Linked DNA regions of Homo sapiens: region 1 is linked to region 2. Evidence: promoter capture Hi-C in 16 types of primary human blood cells and fetal thymus (Javierre and others, 2016). All regions are on one chromosome and are shown on one strand. Each heading gives the region's core, a stretch centred on a gene start or on the middle of the fragment in contact. The rest is flanking DNA. Distances are from core to core; before and after follow the strand shown. Region 1 has its middle 170 kb from the start of KCNG1. Region 2 holds the start of KCNG1 (potassium voltage-gated channel modifier subfamily G member 1).

Region 1 (4,634 bases), core at 1,534-4,033, 170 kb after region 2:
TGTTGAGAGGCACTGAGGCCTGTTCAGAGGTGCAGTCTGCACACAGGAGCAAATGGCCAGCTTGGGTGGGATGACTCTAGCCACTTACTAAACCACGTGGTGTCCTGCCCTGTGGGGAACATTGATACAATTGCCATACATCACTCCCTGGTCTTAGGGCACAAGCGGGATGTTAATGAACAAAAAAAGCACTCTCATTGGCAGCATTATTCATCATAGTTTGCTGGCTGCCCAGGTCTGGCCTCTTGTTTCAAGTCACAGCTCGTTGAAAACATTAAAAAAAAAAAAAACAAACCTTGAGGCTCTCATTTCTGTCCTTTCCTCCCATCTTAGCTTTTGTTAATCATGTCCCCAAAGACCTTTTAAAAAGGAGAAATGGCAAATGATCTGGCTTTTCCAAACCACTGGTCATCTCTGGTATGAACTGTTTGTATGTTTGAGAAGCTGGAATTCCACAGATGATTGATGGGCGGGGAGGAGAGGTGTAGAATTATCCAGAGAAGCAGAGGAGGGGGTGGCTTGAAGCTGGAATTCCACAGACACTTGATGGGCAGGGGGGAGTGGTGTAGAATTATCCAGAGAAGCGGAGGAGGGGGTGGCTTGTTCTCTGCCTCTTTTATGCAGCAGAACTTTCAGAAGGGAAAAAGCGTGGGTGTTGGGAATTCCTAATGGCAAGAATTCATGGAAACGTCATGTTACATATCTGCCGCTGTGGGTGCTGAGCAGAGCGGCAGATGGGGCCGGCGCGGAAATAGTCATATTCCGCCACTTCCTAGTGTGCCAAACACTCATCACTCGCGTCATCTCCCTGGACTGTCACAGCCCCTTTGTGAGGAAGGCAGGACCAGAAGTCACATCTCATTTTGCAAATTCCAGAACCGAGACTCAGATGCCAGGTGACTTGCCCAGGGTCCCCACATCAAGAGGCAGTGACATGAGTGGTCCTGGGACTTAAGCCACAGTCTTCTGCCCCTTGCTTTTTCTGCTATAGCACGGGTTGGGCCTGTGGTGTGATTTGAACACTACTGGGGAATCTGTATGGGGTTATGGCCTGCCTGTCCTGCAGCAAGGTTGCTGGAAACTTCCTTGGGGTCAGGTCTGCACCTCATGCATTGGGTATCACTCCCTTCCCTGCTTCCCTTGGTGCCTAGAACTCATTCGACGTCCAATCTCAGGCAAATGCCTTCTTATCTCTGTGTCACCTCTGTTTCCTCATTTGTCAAATGGGCATAACTGTCACTGTTCATGTGCTCAACACACAGGACAACTCTTTTGTCTCTCTCTCTTTTTTTTTTTTTTAAATAGACGTGGGGTCTCGTTATGTTGCCCAGGCTGGTCTCAAACTCCTGGGCCTGAGTGATCCTCCCACCTTGGCCTCCCAAAATGCTGGGACTATAGGCATGAGCCACCACACCTGGCCCAGGACAACTCTGTTAATTGAACCATCGACTACCCCCCTCTTATCATTGAGAAGGAACCATTGGATTGGCAACACAGAAGTCACTGGTGACCTTAACTAAGGCTGTCTCCTTGTGAATGGGGAAGAATGCCCAATGGGAGTGGGCCCAAGACACAATGTGGGGAGGCGACCAGGAGGCAGCAAATAGAGTCCGCTGTGATAAGGTGTTCATCTGTCAATGGGATCAGAGAAGTAGGATAGTAGCTGAGGGTTCACATGGGTCTGGCAAGGATTTTTTAAATGGCAGGCAAAGCTTTCAGCTGGAAGTGAGAATGCAGAGTTGGGCTGGAGAGGAAGAGGAGCAGAAATAGCCTCTAAGACCTAATTTTTGGTTACTGTGAAGATGAAAAGATATGACCTACAGAAAGCATCTGGCGTTGCTTGATTTGGTCACAGAGGGAAAGGAAAGGACTGCCTGGGATTTTAAATAACATATCACGGTGTGTTAGTACACATTTCCATCTAGGCTTCCCCTGTTGCTAAGGAATAATTAAATAATTTAAATACTTTTAAATAATTGAGAGATTCCCAGAATCTTTATTTCAGCCCAGTATGTCCCATGCATCTGTGCATTTTGGTCTGTGCGTGTGTTTTGATAGTAAAAGGAGACATGAGAGTCTCTCTTTCCAGATGAGTCCAGTCCTACACACCCTCCCCAGGACGCCAGGGGTATCTGGGGCTTTTTCGTTTGCTGGTGACCAAACCTGTCCCTGGCTTCCATCTTCAGTTCTTCCCAATTCTTTAATCCCTTAGTCCAGGCTTTGCTCCCTCCCTTCCCCTCCAGCCGACCCACCACCCCCGCTCATCCAGGTCTCCATCAATTCTCAGTTGATCTAATAGAAGTGCCTCCCCAGCCTCCCTGACTCCAGTCTCTCCCTGCCCCTATTCATCCTGCTTAGTAATGTTGAAATCCGGCATTGCTCGTGCTGCTAAAGAACACTAGTGTCTTTGGTTCTGCAAGCATAAAATATAAATGACCAGGCCTCAGTTCACTTCATTTCCCCAGACATATGCTGTCTCGGAGAAGGCAGATCTTGTTGTTCTCGGAACACCCTGAGTTCTTTTCATTTTAACTTTTTTAATGTGTTCCCATTGCTCTTGGGATAAAACTCAAACTCCTCACCATGTCTTTTCAGGCTGATGGCATCTGCACTCTGCCCACTTTTCCAACAACATCTCCTGCCCCCATCAAAGTAAGCAGTTCGTGCCTCAGGACCTCTGCACTGGCTGTTTCTTTGTCCTGGAATTCTCTGTCCCATCTCTTCACATGCCCGGGTCTTACTTCAGCTTCAGTGAGACTCCTCCAAAAGGCTGTTTCTTTGCAAGCTATTCCACTGCTCCGGTTTATTTTCTGACTGTCATTTTGTTCACTTGCTTCGTGGAATTTGACACAATTTGAAGTGGACTTGCTGCTGTGTCATCTGTCCTCCCACTGGGTGCCAGCTCTGTAGGGCAGGAGCTCTTCCCTCTCTTGGCCACTGCCAGCTCCCCAGTGCCTAGAGCAGGGCCCCGACCGAGTGGGAGCTCAGCAGTATTGTTGAGTGGATGAACATCCCTTGCCCTCGCCCGTCACCGCACCCCTGTGCAATCTGTCCTGTCTGTTTTGTTCACTACTGTGCCCCCAGTACCTGAGACCGTGTCTGGCACATAATGTTTGCTCAATAGATAATCCTTGAAAGACAAGTTGAATTAAAAACGCACATCCAGCCCCACTTGACCCCGGAATTCAGCCTTGACTGACTTATACGTTGCTCATTTCCTCTCGGGTTCATCACCAAATGGGGCTCTTTTCCTGCTGTTTATGAAGTCACCAACTGCAGATACTTGAGAAGGGCTCCACCGGTTTTTGTTTTTTGTTTTTTTGAGACAGAGTCTCACTCTGTCACCCAGGTAGGAGTGCAGTGGCATGATCTCGGCTCATTGAAACCTCCGCTTCCCAGGTACAAGCGATTCTCCTGCCTTAGCCTCCTGACGTAACTAGGATTACAGGCATGGGCTATCATGCCCGGTGAATTTTTGTATTTTTATTAGAGATGGGGTTTCACCATGTTGTTCAGGCTGATCTCGAACTCCTGACCTCAAGTGATCCACCTACCTTGGCCTCCCAAAGTGCTGGGATTACAGGAGTGAGCCACCACGCCTGGCCACCGCTCATAAACTTCCATGAGAAAAGCAGTGTTAGCTCCATCTTACAGGTGAGGAAGAACGAGGCCAGGGAATCCTGTAACTTGCCCTCCAGCCCCGTAATTGCTGAGAGGTGGAGTCATTCATTTGTGGAGCGTGATGTTGCCTTGGTGTTGCTGCTGGGAGGAGGGAACACATATGAGCCTGTGAGTCTTTGAAGGGGAGTTCCAGGCACTCCAGGTCCCACGGAGACAGGGAGGTTCCTGGAAATGAAGCTTACGCTTGAAGGATGAGAAAGTATGAACCACGCATGGTGTAGGTGTGGACCGGGAGTGAAAGGCGTTCCAGGCAGAGAGAATGGCGTTTGCAAAGGCCTCAAGCCTCAAGAGCTCAGGGACCGCTGGGGGGAAAGTGAGCAGAGGAGAGGATGATTTTTTTTTTTTTTCCCGACAGCAACTTTCCTTTTCATAGCCAATTATATTAAGATAGAATTCACATGCCATAAGATTCCCTCCTTTAAAGTATAGAATTCAGGAGTTGTTAGTACATTCACAGTAGTGCAGACATAGCCACTATTAATTCCAGAACATTTTTCGGTATCCCAAGAAAGAAACCCTGTGCCCATTGGCAGTCACACTCCGTTGTGCCAACTCCCTCAACCCTTGGCAACCACGATCCGCTTTCTGTATCTATGGATTGGCCTATCTGGACATCTCACATAAATGGAATCGTAGTCTTTGTGACTGGCTTCTTTACTTAGCAAGTGTGTTTTTTATTTGTATTTTTTTAATGTAGTAAAATACATGTAACGTCAAATTTACCATCTTAACTTGGTGGTTGTTACTATCATTGCTCAGGCTGGAGGGCAGTGGTGCGATCTCAGTTCGCTGCAATCTCCACCTCCCAGGCTCAGGTGATCTTCCCACCTAAGCCTCTGAATAGCTGGGACTATAAGTGCATGCATCACCGCACTGGCTAATTTTTGTATTAACTTTGTATAAATTTTATAGAGATGGGGTCTCACCATGTTGTCTAGGCTGGTCTCGAACTC
Region 2 (5,111 bases), core at 899-3,398:
CTTTGGGGATGGGGAGAAGCAAGTAACCTCTGCCTCCCATGTCACATCTCCCTCCCAGAGGCCAAAAAGGCAACCCAGAGTTTGGCAAAACTAGGGGTTTGGTTGATTTTTTTACTCCCAAGGTTTGACAACCCAGGCTGTAGGCTGCGGGCCTGGGCTCTCAAGTCTCAGGAGAAGAACCTAGGTTGCCTCGTTTCCAGTGTGCTTGCAGTTCCCTGCAGGTTAGGAGTGTGTCCCAGGACAGACATCTTTCCCGTGGAACGGGCTGGCTTCGAGAATGACTGAGGAGGGTGATCCCCAGGGGCCAGCGCTTGCCTGTTTTTCAAACACACCTTCCCTCCTTCCCCTCCTATCAGGCGACTCTGCAGGGCTCCAAAAGCCGGGGGAGGCACAAATAGAGCTCAGGTCTGGCAGAGCCTGAAAAATCCCCCAAAGAAGGACAGCATGCCCTAGCCACAGTGCCGACCGCAAGGCCCCAATCAGCAGTGCCAAACTTTTCTTGGAGATGTGCTGCCGGTGAGGCTCTTCATAGGGACTCTGCCATCATGGGTATGGGGGTATCAAACACACACTAATGAATAAACCTCTGCTCAGATTCATAGGGCAGGAACTTCCCCCACCCCACAATGAATCAGACCAGTTCCTGCTCCCTCCTCTTACTTCCCCCTGTACTTATCTCAGGGAGTCAGCAAAGGGGGTGGGGGCGTCTGTGTCTGTCTCCCTCTTCTATGTGTCTGTCATTTACCTGGGTAACTTTGGTGCCTGGCACCCTTTAAGTGCTTAATAACAGCGAGTGCTTAAGAAAATGCCTGCTGAATGGACAACCTAACTCATAAACCCCATTGGTGGGAACCTGCATTCCTCAGTAATGTCGGATCAGTGTTTCTCAACTCCTCCCCACCCTACCCCATCACCCGCCCCTAAGGAGCTTTGAAAAGATCTTTTCTTCCTATTCTAGAACCAATTCCAGCTTCCACACCTCCCACCTTGAGAAGGAATGCATTAGATGAACCAAGACTTCTGCCTATATACATGGGCTGCTACAGTTGGCCACCCCGGCAGTCTGCGGCCTCCCAAGCGGGGGCCTGGGTCTTAATCCTTACTTCTCTCTAAGCTGCATGAAGGGTGCCCCCATTCCATCCCTCTTCACTTCTCCCCAGCATAGCGCCTCCATAAATGTTTGTGAACTGGATGAATGACTGTTGAGCGCTTGGTATGATGAGCTGCTTACAATAGGTGCTCAACCAATCTTTGTCCAATCTATGAATGAATGAATGAACTTCACCCTTTTCCTTCCATACCTCCGGGCTGAGCCTCTCTCCCACATGGAAACCCTAAGGCTGAGACCACCACCTTCCTACCAGTTCCTGGGGGTGCCCAGTGAACTGTCTCAGTATCCCCAGTGCCTAGCACACAGTAGGCGCTCAATAAACGCTTGCTGTGTTCATAATGAATGACTCAATCAGGCCCACGGTGGGGGTGAAGGGGGGCTCCATACTGTGCCTAAGGATACAGTGAATGAGCAAGTGACACACACTCCCCCACCCCAATCCCTAACTCTCCTTCCTCCCAGGATCGGGGGAGAAACCTCGGCCCACAGCCGGGATGCGCCCCCGCCGGGGTCACCGCGGCGGCGAACGTCCCGGACTTCGCATCCCGGTGACCCCTTGGGATGAACCGAAGCCGGACCCGCACCTTGGCCGTAACAAGCGCGCTCCACGCCGCCACGCACCAGCGGTGACTCCCGAGTCCTCTGTCGCCCTGGCCTCCCCGCAGGCGGGTTTCGAGGCCCCCGCAGGGAGTTCAGGGCCACGGCCACGTGCAGCCGCCCCCGAGCCCGAGTTTGCAGGCTCGGGGTCCGGTTCGCGCTTCGGTGGCGCCCGGCGAGGCTGCAGCGCGCAAAGTTCCCACCTCAAGTTCCCGTCGCGGCGTCCCCGCCTCGGAGTTGGCCCGGCCGCGGCTTCCGTTCCCCCCGGCTGCCCACGGGTCCGGGGCGAGGACGCGAGAGGGGCCTGGAAGTCGCCCGGGGAGCCCGCTCTGCCTCCCGGAGCCGCCGCCAAACTTCGGTCCCGGGGCCCGGCTCAGCTCCCGCCCTCGGAGCCACGGCCGCCCCGTCTCTGCCTCCCGGTCCCCGCCGGGCTCCGAGTGCGCCGGGAGCGCGGCGCAGCAGCCGCCGAGGGAGGGAGCGAGGCAGGAGGCGGGACGGAGGGAGGGGACTGAGCGCGGGGCGGGGAGAAGGGGCGGGCAGCCGAAAGCGCAGCGCCTGGCCTCGCCTCGCTTCGGGACAGTGGCAGCGGCGCCACCGTCACGGGGCGTCCAGGCGCCCAATCGGGACCCCGCACCTTGGATCCGGGGGCCCTGGCGCGCCTGCTGGATTGCGCTCCTCGCGGCCAGTTCCTGAGCCCGCGTCCGGGACTGCTCGCGCTACGCCCTCCCTCCCGTTGCCTTCTTCCCCGTCTGCTCTCCCAGGAGCGACCACCCTGCGGCCCCTTCGCCTGCACGCGACAGCCTTCAAGGTCCCCGCGCTCCGCTGCCCTGGAGCTTCACGCACCAGGCGGCGCGGCAGCCTCCTAGGGTCGCGCGCCCTGTCAGCTTTCCCCGCGGTGCAAGTGCTCCGGTGGTCCCGGGTCCGCGCCCCTAGCAGCACCGCCCCAGGGTCTACATGTGCTAGATATTAAAACCCCACTCTCCGCTGCCCCGGGGCCGCGCTCCACGCGCTTACACATCCTGGGAACCACATGCGCCATGTCTCCTGCCTTTCCCTGGAAGTCCTGGAAGTCCAAGTGCACTGCTGCCTCTGGGTCCCTCGCCCCCCTACCCCGGGCAAATACTGCATCCTTGAGGCCCTCCACGCGCTGCTGCCCTGGAGCCGAACGCTCCAAGCAAGCTTCCACATCCTGGGGGCCATATATCGCGCGCCTTTTCTCGACCTCCTAGACCAATGTTGCCCTTGGGCCCTTCCTGCCACCGCCACCCAGGGACTGCCAGCATCTTGCTGTGCCAAATTCCTAGGGCCAGTACGTACCGTGCCAGGTGTTTTCCCTTCCAGTCCCGCGGGGCCGAGGCCCCAGAGCCCTCCCGGGCTAGCAGAGCCGCACTTCGTCGTCCACTCCCCTGGCCGGTGCAGGGCACTTGGACCAGGTCCTGGGGTCTTGCTCCCAGTGTGGCCGCCTAGCCTCGGAGTTGGTAGGATGCTGCACAGATGCTGGAGGTTGGGTTGGAGGGATCTATTGGGTTGGAGGAATCTACTGAGTTGGAGGGACCTATTGGTTTGGAGGGATCTGTGCTGCTGGCAGGGCTGGCCTCTTAGGGTGGCTTGCCTTGCACTCCGTTCCTCTTCTCCTTTCTGTCTCTTGCACTCCGTTCCTCTTCTCCTTTCTGTCTCTTGCACTCCGTTCCTCTTTTCCTTTCTGTCTCTACTGCCTTTGCCTATCATCAGAGAACCAAGAAAGGACATGAAGAAACCCTGCTGCCGACCAGCCTGAGGCCTTCTGCTTGAGTGGGGCTCGGGTTGGGGAGTCGTGGGTGCTCATTAAGTGGGTTAGGGTTAACCCTAAGAAATGAGCGCAGGGCACACTAGCCTGCGCGGCAGTCCCAGCCGGGTGGAGCATAGGAGTTCCAGGTTATAGTGCACTATGATGGCACCACTGCAATCCAGCCTGCGTGACTGAGCGAGATCCAGCCTCTAAAACAACAAGAATAAAAACACTGGCTTACTGGTGAGGTGGAGGCCTGGACAGACAAGGATCTGCCTAAGGACCTGTTTCCAAGAGCTCACCTTCTACTGGGGGCTTGGCAGAATTGGGAAACTGCTGAAATACGTGATTGCAGAATGAAGCCAGAGAGGCCACTTTAGATAGAATAATGGGGGAGGGCTCCTGTGGAGGTGATGGTTACATGGAGCCCTGAGCCAGAAGGAGCCCATCTGGCAAGATGGGAAGAGAGCTTTCTAGGTGGACAGAACATCAAAGGCACTGGCCTTCAAGCAGGAGAGAAGGAGGCATGTCTGAGAAACATCAAAGAGACCAACCAGCAGTGTGGGGGAGGGGCCTGAGTGGGGTGGGGTGGGCTTTTGTTGTCAGAGGGTCCCTGGATTACATATTGAGAAACACTCCTCTTGTGGTGGATCAGGCTTCTGCCTTCCTTTCCCATCTGAAATTTTTTTTTTTTTTTTTTTTTTTGAGACATAGTCTCTCTGTGTCTCCCAGGCTGGAGTGCAGTGGTGTGATCTCAGCTCACTGCAACTTCCATCCCCCTGGGTTCAAGCGATTCTCCTGCCTCAGCCTCCTGAGTAGCTGGGACTACAGGTGTGTGCCACCATGCCCAGCTAATTTTTGTATTTTTAGTAGAGACGGAGTCTCACCATGTTAGCCAGGCTAGTTTTGAACTCGCAACCTCAAGTGATCCGCCAGCCTCAGCCTCCCAAAATGCTGGAATTACAGGCGTGAGCCACTGCACCCAGCCAGAAAATTGCTCTCTATCTTGTTTTTGAGACAGGGTCTGACTCTGTCACCCGCTGGAGTGCAGTGGTGCAATCATAGCTCACTGTAACCTCTAACTCCTGGGCTCTAGGGATCCTCCTGCCTCAGACTTCTGAGTAGCTGGGACTACCACACACCACCATGCACCACTAATTTAAAACAAAATATATTTTTTGCAGAGACAGGCGGGTCTGGAACTCCTAGGCTTAAGACATCCACCCACCTTGGCCTCCCAAAGTGCTGGGATTACAGATGTGAGCCGCTGCACCTGGCCATGTTTCTATCTTTTTTACTTGCGTATTATCTGTGTCCCCACTGGGGACCAAGCTCCATCAGGGCAAGGACTGTGTGCTGTCTCTCCCCTCTCCAGCAGCTCCCACTCTGCTAGGCACATACAGAGCAGGCTTCTTAAATGATTCCTGGAAATGATTCCTGGGGGAATTCAGGACAGTTTTCTGGAATAGATGTGACTGCGTCAGAGAGTCAGACTCCTCACTGATGCTCACAGGGTAAGGATGCAGAGCAGGGCCTCTCAGACTTTACTGTGCATCTGAATCCCCCTGAGGGCTTATTAAAACCCAGACGGCTGGCCCCCACCCTGGAGTGGCTGATTCAGTGGGTCTGGCGTAG

The links. The method cuts DNA at HindIII sites, captures the fragments that hold promoters and counts their contacts. A CHiCAGO score of 5 or more calls a contact.
Region 1: a fragment that was not itself captured here is called in contact with the fragment with the promoter of KCNG1 in region 2 in 1 of 17 cell types (endothelial precursors); the score reaches 5.3 in endothelial precursors.

The regions. Positions count from the first base shown.
Region 1 is chr20:51,190,366-51,194,999 of GRCh38, forward strand. No RefSeq gene overlaps it. Among named protein-coding and RNA genes, the nearest start is that of KCNG1, 170 kb to the left of the region's middle. The HindIII fragment of the contact is 2,146 bases long and covers 1,711-3,856 here.
Region 2 is chr20:51,020,959-51,026,069 of GRCh38, forward strand. KCNG1 (potassium voltage-gated channel modifier subfamily G member 1) reads right to left here and starts at 2,149. Exons shown (of 3, transcript NM_002237.4): 1 at 1,912-2,149. RefSeq lists an enhancer at 1-353 and a silencer at 2,078-2,247. The HindIII fragment of the contact is 2,899 bases long and covers 1-2,885 here.